Regions from separate parts of the Homo sapiens genome. Here all the other regions are linked to region 1. Evidence: promoter capture Hi-C in 16 types of primary human blood cells and fetal thymus (Javierre and others, 2016). All regions are on one chromosome and are shown on one strand. Each heading gives the region's core, a stretch centred on a gene start or on the middle of the fragment in contact. The rest is flanking DNA. Distances are from core to core; before and after follow the strand shown.

Region 1 (4,074 bases), core at 938-3,437:
AGGCCCCACTGGTGGCTTGCGTGTGTGTTTGCATGTTTGTGTGAACCTCATTTCCCTGGGGAGCCAAGTGAGAACGACCATCTTGTCAAAATGCCATTGCTAGTTGCGACAGGTGAGCGTTGATGGTACGACAGGTGCAAGAAGCTCTTTTATGCCAAGGAATATTCAAAATATTTCACTTACATTAAGCCATTCAACAGCCTCCTGCCCAGCAGCCCCATGGGGTAAGTATCACTATTGCCTCCCATTTTACAGATGAGAAGTGAAGTAAGGCACCTAAAGTCACCAAGATCTGAGGCTCCTGGTCGACACAAAGGTGGCATGCCCAGCACAACAACACACACCTCACTCTTTGGTCCTGTCCTCTTGGGGTTTTTTTGTTTGTTTGTTTGTTTGTTTTTGAGACAGAGTCTCACTCTTGTCGCCCAGGCTGAAGTAGTGGTGCTATCTCTGCTCACTGCAACCTCTGCCTCCGGGTTCAAGTGAATCTCCTGCCTCAGCCTCCCGAGTAGCTGGGATTACAGGCATGTGCCACCACGCCAGCTAATTTTTGTATTTTTAGTAGAGACGTGGTTTCTCCATGTTGGCCGGGCTGGTCTTGAACTGACCTCAGGTGATCCTTCCGCCTTTGTCTCCCAAAGTGCTGGGATTACAGGCATGAGCCACCGTGCCCGGCCTGTCCTGTCCTCTTGGAACAGAAGTCAGCTCGCCTCTAGGAAGCAGGCTCCAAGAAAACACAATCATGGCCGCACCCTTGCACAGAAGTCGTGGCTCCCTCCCTACTGGGGCAGTGGGCATCTCCTGGGGTCAACGCTCAGTTATGAATACATTGCTTAAACTTGATCGTTGTGAGTTTCACACCCAGTTGGGAAAAAAGACTGGTTTGGTCAGTTGGCATTTCAGGAGTATCTAAAATATTGAAGTGTATTTAATATTTCAGTGTACTAGCTCAAGCTTTTGTGTGTTTTCATAAAAAAGTTGCTGCCAAACATATTTTGAATACCATTTGTGAGGACGTATGGCTCTTTCCACGCCTCTCAAAGGCCAGGGAAAGCAGAGTTGGAGGAAACCTCCTTTCCTCTCCTTCTAGAGAGTCATTTAAAAGTAGTGAGTACTTTGAGAAAATGCTTTTGACTCTTGGTCCCTTTTTTTGAGTATTAAATCAATTATAGCCACACAGCAAGCCTGCATCTCCATTCTTCATCCAGGGGCCACCAAAAAAAAAATAAAGCAGCTGAACAAATATAAGATTCTGTACCATTTCCACCCCCTGGCCCCCCTGCCCCCCCGCCCCCCCCACAGCAGAAATGCTGCTTGTTTTTGGTCAATGGTCAAATGATAACCTGAAAGCTCAAGTTCCTTTTTTTTTTTTTTTTTTTGAGATGGAGTTTGGCTCTTGTTGCCCAGGCTTGAGTGCAATGGCGTGATCTCGGTGCACCACAACCTCTGCCTCCCGGGTTCAAGTGATTCTCCTACTTCAGACTCCCGAGTAGCTGGGATTACAGGCATGCACCACCACGCCTGGCTAATTTTGTAATTTTAGTAGAGTTGGGGTTTCTCCACGTTAGTCAGGCTGGTCTCGAACTCCCAACCTCAGGTGATCCGCCCCCAACCACCTGAGCAATTGCAAGTTGTAAGAGCTTTGGGTCAGAAATGCAGGTGTCTTCTGATCACCCAATTGCCGGGAAAGATGCCACAACAACACAAGAGGGAGGCCACTATCAGTTCCAGCGTCATCCCCACTAGTACCACTAGGGGGTCAGGCCACTCTGGCCACCATGGAATGCTCGTATGGTAGCCCTAAGTCATGGTTTTCCATTCACAGGGACAATGTGACCAATGAAGTAAGCAGTCAATACCTTTAGGACATCAAGGTGAACCATAATTGGGACACAGAAGTTTCTGGAAGAGGTAGGCTTGGGCAAGGCGGGTGAGCAGCAGGTTGTGTTTACCAAAAATGGCCATGATGCTGCCTTCTACACTCGTGTTCTTCTGCAGTGTGACTGTGTCATTCCCGCATGCAGAAGCAGAGTCTCTCCATCCCTGGGAACCCAGGGCTGGCCTGTGGCTCCCTTGTGACTGATAGGATGGAGTAGAATCGATGCCGATGATGTCCCAGGCTGGCGTAGTGCTACAATCCGAGGCCAGGGCAGAACAGGCCTGATGCTGAGGCCTGGTTCCCTTGGAACGTTCCCTTCAGGAAGTTCCTGCTCAGAACTCCGCCTCTGTGCTGCCAGAAGCCCAAGGTACAGGAAGCAGCCAGGCACTGGGGCTCATACACAGGCTTGGCTGAACCTGGCTTCCCAGGGCAGGGGTTAAGAGGGAAGAAGCCCCTGGAGGATGTCAGCCATGGCCATTCACAGCTTCCTGGCTGAGGCTTCATCCTCTCCAAACTCCTGACTTGCAGAATCCCTGGGCATGGGAAAATGGTTCTTGTTTGATGCCATCAAATGTGGGATGCTTGTTACGCAGCATAGATAACTATGGTAAACCCCGTGTCATGGGCACTGTTGGGTGATGCAGGTCTGGGAATGGGGACATTTGGTGAGGCAAGGCCCTTTGGATTCTGGTTAGGAGAGCGAGTTCTAGAGCTGCCTAGGTTCAAATCCAGTCTCCACCACTTACCAGCTCTGTGGCAGTGGGAAAGTGACTTAACCTCTCTGTGCCTTGCACGTCTTCCTCTGTGCAATGGAGGTGATAACAGTACACACCTGGGCAGGCTGTTTGAGGACCGAGTGTTGTTAGTGCCCGAAGAGCACCAGGCTCACGGGAAACGCTCATTCCGTGGTGTCACCTCTGATGGGCACAGGCCTAGGCCTCGACTGGACGGCTGGAAGACTGTGCAGGTCTAGAGGGTGCTTAGACTTGGCAGGCAATTGTATTTTTTTGTCTCACTAACTAAACTGGGAGAAGACAGTTATCTGTCTGTCTCTCATCATCTGTGCGTTGAGAATGTGGGGCATACAGAAAATGCTGTATTTTGACTGGAAGGAGTTGCAAGTTCCTGAAAAAAGCCTGCTGGTGGAATTGAGGCTGACATCAGGCCTGAGAAGGGGAGGGGAGGGCATTGGGGAGTGAGAGGGCTGGGCCTGGGCAAACGGGTTGGTATTGCTTTAGTGGGGTGCACGCACATGTGTGTGTGTGTGTGCACATGTTTGTGCCTGTGTGTGTGTGTCTGTATGTGTGTGTGAATAGAGAGAGGTGGCCCCTAGAAAGGGTGAGAGATGCTCAGTCAAAACTCAGATGTGAGCCAGATTTAGACAATGAAGGGCCCAGTAGGCCACACTCAAGCAAGGTTGTGGCAGGGATCATGATCTGTATTAGTCCATTTTCACACTCCTGTGAAGAAATACTCAAGACTGGGTAATTTATAAAGAAAAAGAGTTTAATGCACTCACAGTTCCACATGGTGGGGGAGGCCTCCCAATCATGGTGGAAGGTGAAGGAGGAGCAAAGGCACATTTTACATGGTGGCAGGCAAGAGAGCTTGTGCGGGGAACTACCCTTCATAAAATCATCAGATCTCCTGAGACTTATTCACTATCTCGAGAACAGCAGGGGAAAGACCCGTCCCCATGATTTGATTACCTCCCACTGGGATTATGGGAGTGATAATTCAGATTTGGGTGGGGACACAGAGCCAAATCATTTCATGATCCAAGCCCACATTAGCCAGGGCAGCGGGCAGCAGGGTGGGAGACGTGGGAAGGGCACAAAAGGAAACAGAGTCAAGTCTTCTTCCAGGTGTTCTGCCTGTGCTGGGGGGGCCCTCTCACACCACCTCCTACTCAACCTGCAGGGCTGGGCTGGTGCATCAAGAGGGAGGTGGAATCTCATTCTCCCTGTGTGAGTGCACATGGAAATGTGATTTCACTCCTGGTTTAACTTTTCCCTTGCCCTCCAGCCCTCAGCTTCACTTTTTCGGGTGACCAAATAATGACAATTTTCACATCGCCAGGTTTCCTTCAGCATTTGCTGACGGCCGACTGCCTTAGACACCAAACACATGTTATCCAGACGCCTGAAACGGCCATGCCCTGGGGAGCTGTTTAGTAGTTTTAAAGACCTTGAAAG
Region 2 (4,342 bases), core at 418-2,917, 140 kb before region 1:
CAGACCAGGATTAAAACTGATGTTGATGCTTAGAGATTCTTTCATGTTCATTTTGCTTTGAGGAAATTACAGTTTTGATTAATTGAACCTTTTTTAATGGTAGAAAAATGTGTTGTTTTTATCTCTAGCTGTTGTAGTTTTTCATTCTTAGAAGGCAGTTACAAAAAGTTAAGAATATTCTAAATTTGAAAATTTTGAAACTAAAAGCTCTGTGATATATACATTTTTAATAAAAACAATGTTTTCGACAAAACTGTAATGTTTCTTTGCTGTAAACACTGTACTTATGAATCTATTTATAATTACAGCTTAGTTCAATGGCTGAAACACAGTCGAAAAGAATACTGTGAATTATGCAAGCACAGATTTGCTTTTACACCAAGTAAGTTCTTTAGACATTTTCACTGCATTTTTTTTGGTTATCACTCGTGGCATAAAGGTGTTTGATATGATCAGTTGACAGAGGAAGGGGGATAAAAGTGCTTAAGCACTTTAAAGCAATTATTTTCAGCTTGATTTTTTTTGATAGTAATAGGAAGTATTGATATTTAGGAAAATATTTTGAAAAACTGTATGCTGTCTTTTATCACACACATGTTTGAGATTTGTGGGGTGTTTTTTTTTGTCTTTAAAATTTATTTACTTTTAATTGTAGACAGGTTCGAACACATGCAAAAATCTAACAAGTCCACATGAACCCATCACTTAGTGTCAACTCATAGCCTGTCTTGTTTTACATACACTCTTGTTCCCTGCCTCTTTATCCTTTTATTTTTTTCTCTATTATTTAAAAAATAATTCTACCATTTGTAATTTCATCTGTACATACTTCAGTATGTATCTCTAAAAGGTAAGGGTTCTTTTTCAAAAACGTAACTATAATACCATTATCCACCTAGAAAAATAAACAATGATGCCTTGATTTCATCAAATATTCAGTACTCTTCAAATTTGGACTACATTTTGAGTTAAAGTTGTATAGGTTAGAATAATAGTCATAAAGATAAAGCTTTTTTTTTTTTTGAGACAGAATCTCGCTCTGTTCTGTTGCCCAGGCTGGAGGGCAATGGCGTGATTTCAGCTCACTGCAAGCTCCGCCTCCCGGGTTCACGCCATTCTCCTGCCTCAGCCTCCCGAGTAGCTGGGACTACAGGTGCCCACCACCACACCTGGCTAATTTTTTTGTATTTTTAGTAGAGACGGGGTTTCACCATGTTAGCCAGGATGGTCTCGATCTCCTGACCTCATGATCTGCCTGCCTCAGCCTCCCAAAGTGCTAGGATTACAGGCGTGAGCCACCGCGCCCAGCAAGCTTTTTTTAAAAAAATAATAAAAAATAGAGAGAGGGTCTCACTATATTGCCCAGGTTGTTCTTGAACTCCTGGCCTCAAGCAATTCTCCTGTCACAGCTTCCCAAAGTGTTGGGATTACAGGCTTGAGCCACATTGCTTGGCCAAACAAAGTTTTAAATTACCGTTTTTTTCATGAGGCTAACTTTTAAGGTCAATATTTCATAAGCCTTTATAAAATATTTTTGCAGCCTTTAAGGTTTTAACTATGATTCCTGTGCCTATTAATATTTAATATGTTTTATCTCAAATAAGTAGAGGACTGTGCTGGCAAGTTATTAAATATTTGAAGCATAATTTTTCATTCTGGGATCCCCTATATTGCCTTCCCTTACAAAGGATTTTTGTGTTTTAGTTGTGTGTGTGTGTGTGTGTGTGTGTGTGTGTGTGTGTTTAAGCATCTTGAGCTTCTCGATATAAATGCTGTAACTTAGTGTTTTACTTTGTTTTTATTTGATGAGTATAAATGATTAAAGTTATTACATTTTCACTTTTGGAGCTGTATATTCATCATAAAAAAGTCAATTCTGTTATTTTGTAGTCATTAATTTTCTGTAGTACGTAAAAGCTGTACAGCTTGTCAAGATTCATAGGAAACTAAGACTAACTAGTTGAGTATCTTCATGAAATTCAGTTGATAGGAAATATGTGGGCTTTTACTTTGAGGCCAATAGAAGCTTGTTTTGTACATTTTAATTTTCATTTGATAGTTACATTCTCTATTTCTTTTATCTTTTGCAAAAAATCTCTATTATTCCTGGTTTTAATGACTTGCTCTTGTATACCAGATATCCTATCGAAGTCAATGATCTGTGGGCATGTGCCATTAAAAGTTGCTATTTGTGGCCAGGTGCTGTGGCTCACCCCTGTAATTCCAGCACTTTGAAAGGCTGAGGCAGGCGGACCACCTGAGGTCAGGAGTTTGAGGCTAGCCTGGCCAACATGGTGGAAACCCTGTCTCTACTGAAAATACAAAAATCAGCCAGGTGTGGTGGCAGACGCCTGTAATCCCAGCTACTTGGGAGCCTGAGGCAGGAGAATCACTTGAACCTGGGAGGCGGAGTTTGCAGTGAGCTGAGATTATGCCACCGCACTCCAGCCTGGGCAACAGAGTGAGACTCTGACTCAAAAAAAAAAAAAAAAGGTGCTATTTGTCAGTTGTTTATTTCTCAATGTTTATAGGTGTGAACAGTTTTGTGATAGTGTTCTTATAAATTTTAGATCATTGCTTTTAAACCCTGATATATCATAATTTCTTGTTTTGGCCTTACTGGAGAAAGAATTGTTTGTTTTTCCTTTATGTTCTTTCCGAGCTACCTGTGGTAGAGGTTTTTGATAATAGGCAGTGGTTTTTTATTGGAACCATTTTAAAAGGGAATCCTTTTTAAATGTGGCAGAACTTTTCTTTTTCTGAATGTGTTGAGCCACATTTCTCAGAGTAGTGGGAAGATCTGAATTTATCATTTGAAATTTTAAGTATTATGCTAACATCGGGAAAGTGGCTAACAAATGTCAGTGGGATGTTTGCTCCCACATGAAATGATCTGCTGCGGACTGTTGTGCTTTTTGAGTGCTATTTAATGCTTATATTTGGGGGAGTGTTGATGGCTTGTTGTCAGCTTCATCTTTTGCTCCTGTTTGCTTTATTACATCTTTTATAGTTTGGGAAACCAGATGATTATATTGGTTGAATGTTAAAATGTGTGTAAATGGGCCTTGTATGAGGTTCATGGCTATTAGCAAGGGATGTGAACATCTATTGAATTTTTTTTTCCTGCCCAGAGGCCTTTGTTGATTTCCACGTTTCACATGTGATTTGCCTCATAAATGACTTCTTGGGTAAATGTGATATTATAACTATTTGGTTTATTTTTTTTAAATAGGAAAAAAATTAAGCACAAGGCAAATATTGGAAGTTTAGTTAATGTCTATTTTATATTTATGAATTAAGCTATTTTCGAATCTTCATGAAACTGTAAGTACTTTTTTTCCGCTTATAGTTTATTCTCCAGATATGCCTTCACGGCTTCCAATTCAAGACATATTTGCTGGACTGGTTACAAGTATTGGCACTGCAATACGATATTGGTTTCATTATACACTTGTGGCCTTTGCATGGTTGGGAGTTGTTCCTCTTACAGCATGTGAGTATTCATGCCTCTGATTGGAGTTATTTAAACATTGCATAACTACTTAATATTATAAAGCAATATTGCATCATATTATTATTTGACTGATGTTTAGTTATTTGATGTCAGAGTGTCATGTATTAGGAAAGCCTTACTTAGAAGATGTTCATCGGAACTAAGAATGAGTTTAACAGGTCAGTTTTTTGAGTGAATGTGGGAAAGAACACAGCATACAGAATGGCTAACCATGAAAGTTCATGAAAGCGTTGAAAAAATCAAATCAAATCATAATTAGATATGAAGTATGCTAGAGCTTTCAAGGGCTACAAAAGACGGCCGGGCGCGGTGGCTTATGCCTGTAATCCCAGCACTTCAGGAGGCCGAGGCAGGCGGATCACGAGGTCAGGAGTTTGAGACTAGCCTGGCCAACATGGAGACTGAGGCAGGAGAATTGCTTAAACCCAGGAGGCGGAGGTTGCAGTGAACTGAGATCGCACCACTGCACTCCAGCTTGGGCAACAGAGCAAGACTTTGTCTCGCAAAAAAAAAAAAAAAAGGACTGCAAAAGATGAATTCTTTTGGGATTCTGCAACCCTCCTTTAAAAAAATACTCACATGGCCAGGCGTGGTGACTCACGCCTGTAATCCCAGCACTTTGGGAGGCCGAGGTGGGAGCATCACTTGAGGTCAGGAGTTTGAGTCCAGCTGACCAACAAGGTGAAACCCTAGCTCTACTGAAAATACAAAAATTAGCCGGGTGTGGTGGTGTGTGCCTGTAATCTCAGCTACTCAGGAGGCTGAGACAGGAGAATCACTTGAACCTGGGAGGCAGAGGTTTCAGTGAGCTGAGATCATGCCACTGCA
Region 3 (3,985 bases), core at 1,339-3,838, 160 kb before region 1:
TCCTCTTCCAGATGCCTACTTCCCATTTCTTCCAGGCCAGGCTTACTTTAGTGGGTTTTACTTCTGTCCTGTAAGACTATGAAGATCACTTATTTTTAGTATAATACAGTTAGAACAGAAAGAGTTCTTGAAAAGTGAATAGGAAGTAAGAACCCCCCAAGGGAAAACTTAATAATTCAGACTATATTTTAGAATGCTGTTGCAGTAGGCTAGATGAGATATAGGAGTTACATTAAGGTAGAGGGAATGGAAAGAATGGAAAAGAAGAAATAGACCAAGGTAGAATTAATAGAACATAGTAATTGAAGAGGTAATATAAGGAGGAGGAGTTAAAAATGATTGATTTTTATATTATTTCAAATGGGAATGGAAAGAGATAAGTAGTTCAGTTTTAGATATTGTTTTAGTTTGCAGGGGCTGCTGTAACAAAGTACTACAGATTGGGTGCTTAAGAGAAATTTGTTTTCTCAACTCTGGAGGCTAGAAGTTTGAGATGAAGGTGTTGGTAGGCCTGGTTTCTTCTGAGGTCTCTCTCCTTGGCTTGTAGATGATTGTCTTCTGTGTCTTCATGTAGTCTTCTCTCTGTATGTCTTCATGTAGTTGTCCCTCTATGTCCTAATCTCTTCTTTTTTTAAAGACGCTAGTCATATTGGATTAGGGCCTACTCTAAGGACCTCATTTTAACTTAATTACCTCTTTAAAGATCCTGTCTCCAAATATAGTTACATTGTGTATACATGCAGGTTAGGGCTTCAACACGTGAATTACGGGGGGAGGGGCAGTGCAATTCAGCCCATGATAGACATGAATTCTTGAAGGCTTGGAAGACTGAAGCATTCCCTGTACACTTATTTTTTATAACTTAACTTCATTATAATATCTTTTTTTTTTTGAGACGGAGTTTAGCTCTTGTTGCCTAGGCTGCAGTGCAATGGCGCGATCTCGGCTCATGGCAACCTCCGCCTCCTGGATTCAAGGGATTCTCCTGCCTCAGCCTCCCGAGTAGCTGGGATTACAGGCATGCACCACCACACCTGGCTAATTTTGTATTTTTAGTAGAGATGGGGTTTCTCCATGTTGGTCAGGCTGGTCTTGAACTCCTGACCTCAGGTGATCCGCCCACCTCGGCCTCCCAAAGTGCTGGGATTACAGGTGTGAGCCACTGTGCCTGGCTGTAATACACTTTTTACTTTCCTGTCTCTCTCCTTCCCTTCTGTCACCTCTTAATGTATTCTGTAAAGATGGAATCAGGTTAATAAAGTATAATTTACACACAAATTTACCCTGTTTAGGGTGCAGTTCTGTTATAACACTTTTGAAATAGAATATTGGAGATTCCATGTCTTTTTTGATTACTTCCCCATTTACCAAATATTGGGTACATGTCTACTACGTATCTAGGACCTGTGCAACAATGTTTTCTGCATGTTTCATTTCTTCATTCCAAGTCCTTGAAAAGTGCCAAGAGGCATTTCTATTGAATGGAACAGTTTGAAGAGCATTGATGTAGCTAGAGTAGTGGTTTTCAAAGCTTTGTCCCAAGACCCCTTTACATTCTTAAAATTGAGGACCCAAAGGACTTTTGTTTATGTGGGTTTTATATGTAAAGATAGATATTTACCATATTAGAAATGAAGAATGAATACAAATTATTTAGAATATTTAAAAGTAACAATAAACTCAATATATGTTAATAAAAATAACGTTATCTGGATTATTATAAGACAATTGGATTCTCATCTCTCCCTTTGCAGTCACTTTGTTAAGTGTTTTGGTTAGTGTATATAAAAACTCGGCATCACACAGATTTATAGCTTGAAAAGGGATGAATATTTTCAGATGTTTGTATGTTCTTTGATACTATGTCAAAACTTGACAAGTGGTAGTTTCTTAACGTATCTGAAAACATGGCAGTCACCTTAAAAAATTAAATTAACTGTTAAATTAAAATCCATTTGTCTGGTAGTGTAGGATAGAGTCCAGAAATAGATCCACACATACATGGACAGTTGATTTTTGGACAGAAGTGCAAAAGCAATTGCATAAAATATAAAGGATATCGTTTTTCAACAAATGGCACTGGAATAGTTGAATAGCTGTAGGAAAAAAAAAAGAACTTTGAGCTATAGCTTGTACCATATACCAAAATTAACTCAAAGGGCTGTTAGACCTCAATGAAAAACCTAAAACTATGAAACTTCTAGGGGAAAATATAGGAGAAATTCTTCGGAATCTTGGGTTAGACCAAGATCTCTTAGGTATGACTCCAAAAGCATGATCCATAAAAGAAGTGGATAAATCAGATGGCATCAAAATTCAGAATTTCTTTCAAAATTAGAAAGACACTTAACAGAATGAAGACAGGATACAGAAGATGTATCTTATAAGGGGCTTGGAGTATATAAAAAATTCTCAGAACTCAGTAATAAGAAAACAATAACTCAGTTTTTAAAATGGTCCAAAGATTTGTATAGACACTTCACTAAAAAATACATGTACATGGCTATTAAGCATATGCAAATATGCTAAGCATCATTAGTCAAAACCATAATGAGACACCACTTCACACCTGCTAGGATGGCTATAATCAGAAAGAACAGGTAAGTGTTGGTGAGCATTGTAGAAAAATTGGAACCTTCATTTGTTACGCTAGGAATGTAAGATAGTGTGACTGATTTTGGTAATTCCTCAAAAAGATAAGCTGAGTAACCATATGACCCAGAAATTTCATATACCCAAGAGAATTCAAAAAATATATTCACACAAAAACCTGTATATGAGTTAGCAGTATTATTTATAATAGCCAAATAGAAACAACCCAGTGTCCATCAACTGATGAGTAGATAAATGTGATCTATTTGTAAAATAGAATATTACCCAGCAGTTCAAAGGAATTAAGTACTGATGCATGGTACAACTTGGATAAATCTCATAAACATTAGGATAAGTGAAATAAGCCAGTCACAAAAGAACATATTTTCTATGATCCTATTTGTGTGAAATGTCCAGAATAGGCAAATCTATATATAGAGAAATTAGTGGTTGTCTGGAACTGGGGAGAGCAGATGGAGTAGGAAGTATCCACTAATAGTTACAGGGTTTCCTTTTGGGATGATGATAATGTTCTAAAAGATTATGGTGATGGTTGCGTAACTGTAAATATACTTAAAACAATTGAAGTCTTTAAATTGGTGAACTTTATGACATATATCTGAATAAAATTGTTAATTAAAACTACTGTGAGATATCATTACATACCTATTAGTGTGGCTAAAATGGTAATAGAATGACTGACCGTACCAAGTGTTTGTAAGGAGGTAGAGCAGTTGGAATTTTCATATACTGCTGGTGGGAGTGTAAAGTGGTACACCACTTCTTCTGGGGAGCAGAAAGCAACCTTCCGGGTACAGGTGAGCCAAGGTTGATGGGCAGTTATGCAGAGGGAGTTGGGATATCACTGTGTGTACCTGTGCAAGTCCTGGAGTGTGTTGGGTCCTCATCAGCAGGGCTGTATGAAGGTGTTCATTAAAACAAAACTACTGATAGTGTGGCAGGAGCTAGAAAACACCCCTTTCTTCTTAGATATCCCTCCAGCACCCTCTACTGGCAAAGTTTAACTGCCCCTAGCCAAAAGAAAAGAAAAGAAAAGCTTAGCATCCCTATCACTGAACAGGGACTGAAAGGGAGAATTTGGAGTTGAGAAGGGGATACATGGATAACTAGCTCATTACTGCTGAAATTGTTGGAATCATTCATTGCCTGTGCTGCTGAAGCTTGATGTTGCCCACAGCTGTTGGGCAGAATCTCCACCATGACTTGCGTATCTGTTAGCAGGAGTCTGCAGTACCTGCCATTAGCTGCAACTGCTGGTTTTTAGAAACAAGTAGAAAATGGTTTCGCTGTTTCTCTGCTTCTTCTTTATTTTTATTTTTGAGATGGAGTTTCGCTCTTGTCGCCCAGGCTGGAGTGCAATGGTGCGATCTTG

Evidence for each region. The method cuts DNA at HindIII sites, captures the fragments that hold promoters and counts their contacts. A CHiCAGO score of 5 or more calls a contact.
Region 2: a contact is called between a fragment that was not itself captured here and the fragment with the promoter of LINC02213 in region 1, in 1 of 17 cell types (neutrophils). The highest score is 6.4, in neutrophils.
Region 3: a contact is called between a fragment that was not itself captured here and the fragment with the promoter of LINC02213 in region 1, in 1 of 17 cell types (neutrophils). The highest score is 5.8, in neutrophils.

What each region holds. Positions count from the first base shown.
Region 1 is chr5:10,519,897-10,523,970 of GRCh38, forward strand. LINC02213 (long intergenic non-protein coding RNA 2213) reads right to left here and starts at 2,188. Exons shown (of 3, transcript NR_134289.1): 1 at 1,860-2,188. The HindIII fragment of the contact is 13,630 bases long and covers 953-4,074 here.
Region 2 is chr5:10,378,451-10,382,792 of GRCh38, forward strand. MARCHF6 (membrane associated ring-CH-type finger 6) reads left to right here. Exons shown (of 26, transcript NM_005885.4): 3 at 309-382; 4 at 3,350-3,493. Among named protein-coding and RNA genes, the nearest start is that of MIR10397, 22 kb to the right of the region's middle. The HindIII fragment of the contact is 714 bases long and covers 1,311-2,024 here.
Region 3 is chr5:10,360,889-10,364,873 of GRCh38, forward strand. All of the region lies in intron 1 of MARCHF6 (membrane associated ring-CH-type finger 6), which reads left to right. Among named protein-coding and RNA genes, the nearest start is that of MARCHF6-DT, 8.8 kb to the left of the region's middle. The HindIII fragment of the contact is 2,118 bases long and covers 1,530-3,647 here.